Regions from separate parts of the Homo sapiens genome. Here region 2 is linked to region 1. The links are contacts of gene promoters, found by promoter capture Hi-C in human tissues and cell types (Jung and others, 2019). All regions are on one chromosome and are shown on one strand. Each heading gives the region's core, a stretch centred on a gene start or on the middle of the fragment in contact. The rest is flanking DNA. Distances are from core to core; before and after follow the strand shown.

The links. The method cuts DNA at HindIII sites, captures the fragments that hold promoters and counts their contacts. A contact is called where the count stands out against the background at its distance.
Region 2: the fragment with the promoter of ATP2B4 here is called in contact with the fragment with the promoter of PPFIA4 in region 1 in 2 of the 25 tissues and cell types used here (lymphoblastoid cells and thymus).

Annotation. Positions count from the first base shown.
Region 1 is chr1:203,024,526-203,027,886 of GRCh38, forward strand. It overlaps PPFIA4 (PPFI scaffold protein A4), which reads left to right and starts at 1,966. Exons shown (of 30, transcript NM_001304331.2): 1 at 1,966-2,104. TMEM183A (transmembrane protein 183A) reads left to right here. Exons shown (of 8, transcript NM_138391.6): 8 at 1-323. RefSeq lists a silencer at 1,756-2,065 and an enhancer at 1,892-2,413. The HindIII fragment of the contact is 14,289 bases long and covers 1-3,361 here.
Region 2 is chr1:203,625,354-203,628,603 of GRCh38, forward strand. It overlaps ATP2B4 (ATPase plasma membrane Ca2+ transporting 4), which reads left to right and starts at 1,479. Exons shown (of 21, transcript NM_001684.5): 1 at 1,479-1,866. RefSeq lists enhancers at 473-1,347, 1,348-2,220. The HindIII fragment of the contact is 18,846 bases long and covers 962-3,250 here.

The sequences.
Region 1 (3,361 bases), core at 716-3,215:
AAAGCATCTGCTTAATTTTGCTGCTAACAGCTAACCTTATCCCACGTTGAGGGTGGTATTAAAACTGTTCACACAGAGTGAGCCTGGGTCAGTCAAAAACAGAATTTGGGCATTTGAGTGATAACAGACAACCTAAGGACAATGAGCACTTTGCAGATCTCTACAATTAAAAGTTGCCTCTTTGAGGCAGGAGGGGAGAAGCACAGTCCCTGCCAGGTTGCCTGAACTAAAGATGCCATGGAGCAGGAGTGTCTTGGTGCATTGTTCCCCGCTTAGGAGTACCTTTAAAAAGGGGGTGAAATAAATTTGGCTTAATAATTGTATTCTGACTCAGCTCTGAGTTTTTTGTGTCAAATTCCATGGTATGGTGACAGATACAGTACTAGATACTGCCTCAGCTCTCTCTCAGCATAATATTGACAAACATTTGGTAAAATGTGTTACCAGTCGTTATCTTGGCTTCAGCCTTCCTCTGCATTGGCTGAGTTGCCGTTTCTAGCATGATACATGCTTTATTAGTGACAGGATGTGAAGTGTCTCAGGGATTTCCTTTTGGTGAGGACCCCAGACCACCCGAAGAAGAATTAGAACTTTCTGGACTACAGGTTATATACTGTGATTTTGCTCTGTCAAGCAACATAAATTGATCCTTGAACGCTGTGAGAGTTATGGACACAGACCCTCACACAGTTGAAAATCTGCTATGACTTTTGACTGCCCGAAAACTTAATAGCCTACTGTTGACTGGAAGCCTTATTGATAACATAAACAGTTGATTAATGTGCATTTTGTATATGTAGTATATACCTTATTATAATAAGCTCGAGAAAAGAAAATGTTATTAAGAAAATCAAAGAAGAGAAAATACATTTACTGTTCATTAAGTGGGTCATCATGTTGAGCAGGCTGACGAGTAAGAAGAGGAGGGGTAGTCTTGCTGTCTCAGGGGTGGCGGGGAAGGAAGAAAATCTGCATGCAACTGGCCCTGTGCAGTTGAAGGCCCTGTTGTTCAAGGGTCACAGATTTAGCTTCACTTACCCACCCCTCAGATCAGAATTACTCAAGATTTCCCTGTCTTCAAAGAGACGCAAGGAAATTATGCCAAATGGTGAATATATTGGGTGGAAGATAAATGAGAGAAGGTTGTATGTGTCACTGATCTCAACTATAGCATTTGCTGCTGATATAGAACATGCTGTGTATATATCTATAAATACACACACATGAACACATTGCATGTATATAAAAATTGTTCACACTTTTAGTGGTGCTTACTGGGTATTGGTAAAGGATTGAGTAGGCACTGTGATGAAACTTCACAAAGCAGATGGAAAAGATGCATTAATAGCCACAGGGGGCAGGGTAAGGGAGCAATTCAGGAAAATGGAGAGGCTTAGCTAAAATTTGTCAGTCAGGAATTTTGGCATTTGAGACTTGTTTTCATACTATGTATATGTAATAGACAAACCCTTCATTTTGTAGTAACAGTGTTAGAACAGCCAGGTGCCTGAAGGCAAGCGACACAATTCACTGAAGAGCATACTACAGATGTAGTATCCGGATATCAAGTTTCCCCACTTAAAAAATGGGTGCGATCAAAGGAAAAGCAAGGAACGGGCAGGAGAGCAAGCGTGAAAGGTGACAAACTTGACAATTACAAGGCCGAGACTAAGGCCAATTTAGGGAACGGGCTGTTAGACTAGGAACAAGGGCGAGTTCAGAGGGAGGGGCAGAATGTGGGCAGCACTCCTGGGCCCTGAGACCCTTCTGCGGAATAAAACTCTGGCACTTCGCCACCTCCTAGGCTGAACCAAGATGGCGCGCGGCCTCAAAGCGGCGCTCTCGTCACGTGCCCGGACCCGAGGCGCTTGGGGGCGGGAGGCGTGGCCTCGGTCGCGGCAGCCCAGCCCCGCCTAGGGGGCGGAGCCGGGGGGGGTTGTCCGCGGAGGAAGGGGGCGGGGCCCCGCGGCCGCGCGCTTGGGCGGCGGAGGCTGCAGCTACCTCGGCGCCGGCTCGGCTCTAGGACGTGTCGGGCTGCACGGGTCGGGGGCGGCTCCCTGCTGCTTCCGAGCCTAGCCGCCTGGCCTTCGGCATTTGCAGGCAGGTGAGCGCCCAGAGCCTGGACTGGGGTAGGATGCGTCTTTTCCCCATCTCCAGCTCCCCTCGACAGTTTGGGGAGGGGTCTCGTCTATCGCACCTCGGGAAACAGCCCTTTTTGACTCCGTATGTGCTACCTCCGGCAGGCGTCGGTACTGCTTACCCTGCCGCCCCTCGCCCTCCTTTGCGGTGCCCTGTGCCCTTGGGGGTGAGGATAGGGGCGATGCCTGATCTGCGGGGAGGGCGTGGAGTGCGCCCTCTGCTCCATCGGCTTCAGGGGAGGGGGCCGAGTTGGCGAGTCTCCCGGTGGGAACGGAGCAGACTGCGCCCCCATTTCCCCTCCAGGAGAGTCAGAAAAAGCGCCTCTCGGCTCCGGGGCCAACCCCACTCCTTTGGGGACGCGATTCTGATGGGCTGAGGTCTTCGCTCTTCGCGGGGGTCTTAATCTTTCCCGAGTTGCTCATAGCACCCCTGTTCCTGTCGCTAGCTCTCCATTCCTCGAACTGCCAGCCTCAGTCTGTGCCAGAGATGCCCCCATCTCCGCAGTGCCAGGGCGGTGGGGTGGAAGGAGCGGCCAACCCGAGGCCTGGTGGGGGTGGGGACAGGGGTGGGCGCAACAGGAAAAGAGGGCTGGAATAGAGATGCCTGAACTGGGAGGGTGGGAGTGGGGCGCTGACTTACGTCCACGCAGTAGGGATGTTTTCCAGCGCAGATTTTGAGGTTTTGATGGTGGGTGGGAAGAGAGAGGTCGGGCTGGAGGACTTGGAGACATGGTGTAGGTGGTTTTCTTCGAGAAGGAGGAGGGATCCAGGACAAGGTGCCACTAGGAGCTGATGTCACCTTTGAGGAGAGGTGTGCTGGTAGTTTCCATCAGAGGAGCAGGAGAGTTGGGGCCGTTCTGTGTGGAGAGCAAGTGGTTAAGGAGGCGCTGCTTCGCAGGGAGATCCCCTCCTGGTGTGAGCTTAAGGGTCCCCTCCAGGAGCCAGGTTTCAGGGATTTCCCATAGTCCTTTCCAGAGTTCTTGGATCTGGTACCTAGTACTTTGCTCAACATCCAGCAAACATTTGTTGGACACCTACTATCTGCCAGATACTATGCTCGGTGCTAGGTCTTCTGAAGGCAATTTACAGCCACGGAGTAGCTGAAAGGTACACATAGGAGGCACACATAGCAGGTATTCTGTTAACACCCTTCTCACCGCCCATCCCCATTCTGTTACATTGCTGTTGGATTAGAAAAAGAAAGAACTGTGTCCACGTGCTTT
Region 2 (3,250 bases), core at 229-2,728, 600 kb after region 1:
AAAAGAAATAGCAGGGTAAGAAAATGAAGAGGAAAAAGAGGACCCAAATGAGAGAACATTGGGAAGGGTGCTAGTTGGACACGGGGGAAACTGGACCCCGTTTCACAACCCTGTTTCTCCATGCACATGTGGCTCTGCTTCTTGGGGGCAGAGATGACAGCAAAGAAGGACAGGGGGTGGTGTGAGCTGTTGGGTTAGAATGATAGGATCAAAGAGGCCTTTTCCCAACCCTCTGTTTAAAAGGTTGGGAAGTAGTGGCCAGTCACCTTCTTCACAGCATAGCTCATAGCTATAACCTGTGAGACATATGTCAATGTGCCTTCCATAAGCATATAAACATGAGTGTGTTTGCTGAGGTAGGTGTGGGAATCTGTCAGTCAATGAAGATATGTTGTGTGAACCAGCTGATGGTGCATGTTTGTGCTTGAAAGCCATAAAGTTCTATGCAAAATCTATGGGTGGCACTGTTGCACAATGCTAGTGGGTGTGTGGGTATGGGGGTGTGATTAACTGTTTACAGGCTGTGTATAAGTGTGCATGGATGTCTGAGTGTGTGCAAATTAAAACGGAAATATGTGCCGGAGTATGATACAAAGTACAGGAAAGTACTCGGGCTTTGGAGTCTGTCTGACTTGGTCTTGAATCGTTGGCTCTGTCATTAGCCGGATGTATAACCTTGGGCCAGACACTCAATCTTCAATTCCCTCAACTAGGAAATGAGGTTAATAATAAGTACCTTTCAAGATTAAATGAGGACTAGAAACGATACCATATAGACAAAGCTTTTGGTGTCATAGCCCACGCATAGCAGGACTCAAAAGTAAGCAGCTATTTTCATGCACTGTCAGTATACCTCTGGTGGGTACAGGGACAAGAGGGAACAAAATGTGACCTGTATATAAGGTGTAGGGGAGGACGGGTGTGTGTGTGTGTGTGTGTGTGTGTGTGTGTGTGTGTGTGTGTGTGTTTACAAAACAATTTATTCTCCTTCTCCAAGGAACCCCCTATTCAGACAGGAGCAGGAAGGTAGGAGGGGACATACAAGTGTCCACAGACACCTCGGGTTTCTGGGTCCTGGATCTAAGTGAGTAAGGGGTTGAGAGGCCCGTAGGAGCTGCAGGAAGCCAGCCGCCTGCCCAAGCTTCCTTTTTTTTCCCCTCCGCCCAGCAACCGTTGAATACCGCCACCCACATCCACTCCCCACCTCCACCCTCACCCCTCCTCCACCCCTACTCAGCTTTCTATTCAACAAGTGAGAGCAAGGGCGGGGAAGAAAGCCGACAGGGGAGAGGATTGCTTCCCTTTCTTTTCCCATTCCCCCTTAAGACGAACCAGGAAGTAACCGCAAGAATCGGGCCACCTTAACAGTAGAGTAATGGTTTGGCCTCGCGCCAAGTCCCACCTCTGTTCCAGCTCCTGCTCCTCCCCTCTCTCTTCCCGCACTGCTTGGGGAGAGCTGGTGAGCAAGAGTCTGGCCCGAGTTAGCTAGAGCTGTTGCCATGACAAGCATTTTCTTAAGAAAGCTCTGCTGTTGAGATCGTCCAAAGCTGGGGGCTGGGAGGGGGGGCACGAACTTCGTGGGGCACCATCCCTCCGAAGAGAGCAAGATCAGAGACACCCGCCCAGCTCTCCTGCACCCTTTTTCTTTCAGGAACCTGAGAGGTCCTTCCCATTGGAGGGGCAGGGGGAGGAGACCCAGCCCACTCCCCGGCCTTAGCCAGAAAGGCAAGAGAGCAAAGCCAGCGTCTCTAGCTTGGTTGCCACACTGGGGAGACTGGTGGGTGGTCACCCCACCCTACCCTCATCCATGGAAACCCGGAGGGAGAGTCCCGCCTGAAGAAACCTGGATCTTTGCTAGAAAGAGAGGTAGGCTTGCAGAGAATGAATTGACTTGTGATTTGCAAACTTTGTTTCTTTCTTTTCTCTCAATGGCTTCTAAAACTCCCCGATTTTCCTCTTTCTAGAATATTTCATGCGACTGGGTTTGGAGGATTTTTTTTAAAATATGTGTGTGTGCACAGATTTGTCAAATACTGTTTTACCTATTATCAGTTCTGAGAAACCATATAGTCGAACAAGTGATTTATCTCTCTTTTCCTAGTTCTTGTCATTCCTGGGCTATGGGGTAGGGTAATGGAGGGTTCTCTTTTTGACACCAAAATTGAGCTCTTGGAAAAAATATTTATCTCCCCTCCCTCAACCCATTCCGTTCCTGCCCTCCCCTTCCCCCCTTGGCTTGGGAATGAGACGCAGGATGGAAAACTGTTGCAAAAATATTTTCCGTGTCTGTTCCCTTTCTCGAAAGCCCAAAAGAGAGATGGAAAAAAAAAAAAAAAAGGAACCAAAGAAATCTTCAGCAGAAAGAGGGGCTGCAGCGGGAACTAGGAGAGGGGCACTTTGGGGCCATGGGGTGGAGGTGGGCTGGGAGAAGTTGGCAGGAGTGGGGAAGGAGAGTGCACGAATTAAATTTCTTTAGCTTTGCAGAGAAACCTCAGCAGTTTCTCTGTGCTGCTTGCAAAACATCCTCAGACTTTCACATGTATAATTAGCTGTGGAAAAAGCTGGGAGTTACCTCGTACCGCTGTTGTTTGAGTGTGTGTGAGCGTCCAGAACCAACTGTATGAGTGTCTCCGAGGGCACCGCCCCACACATCTCTGGTCCCAAAGGGGAGGAAGGAGAAGGGTGAATTGAAAAGTTTCCGATGTCGAGGCTGGACACTGTGGGGCTGGTGAGTGTTTGGCAGATGGGGTGGGCCACAGGCATCTGTGGAAGGATCCCTGAGCGTCTCGGGCCACTGCCTTGGCTTGCTGAAGAGCTAGGAATTAAGACTGGGATTGTCCTTCCTGCTCTCCCTTCTCTCTTTCTTTTACATACTTGGCTCGCTCTTGGTAGAGGGGGCTGCTGGCATCCTTCCCCGAGTCGAGTCTGGCCTCTTACACTCCTCCACCTCCCTGAGGGTACCCGCCGCTCTTCTCCAACTGGGTGTGGAGGGTGCAGGAGTGGCCAGCCGCATCTTGGGAGGGGAGTGGGCACTCTGCTGCCAGAGGCACGTCCCTCCTGGGCATTCCTGCCGGACTTAACAATAACTTGCAGACGTGATGCCGGCGCCTGCTGGCCGGGCAGGGGGAATGTCAGATGAAGAAATAGGCCGGTACTCAACTGAGGCCCCTGTGGAGAGGGGAAAGGAGTGGGGGAGGGAAGGGAAACAAAATCCCATTCTGCAGCGCCCCCCTCCTCTGTGTGAGGAGTC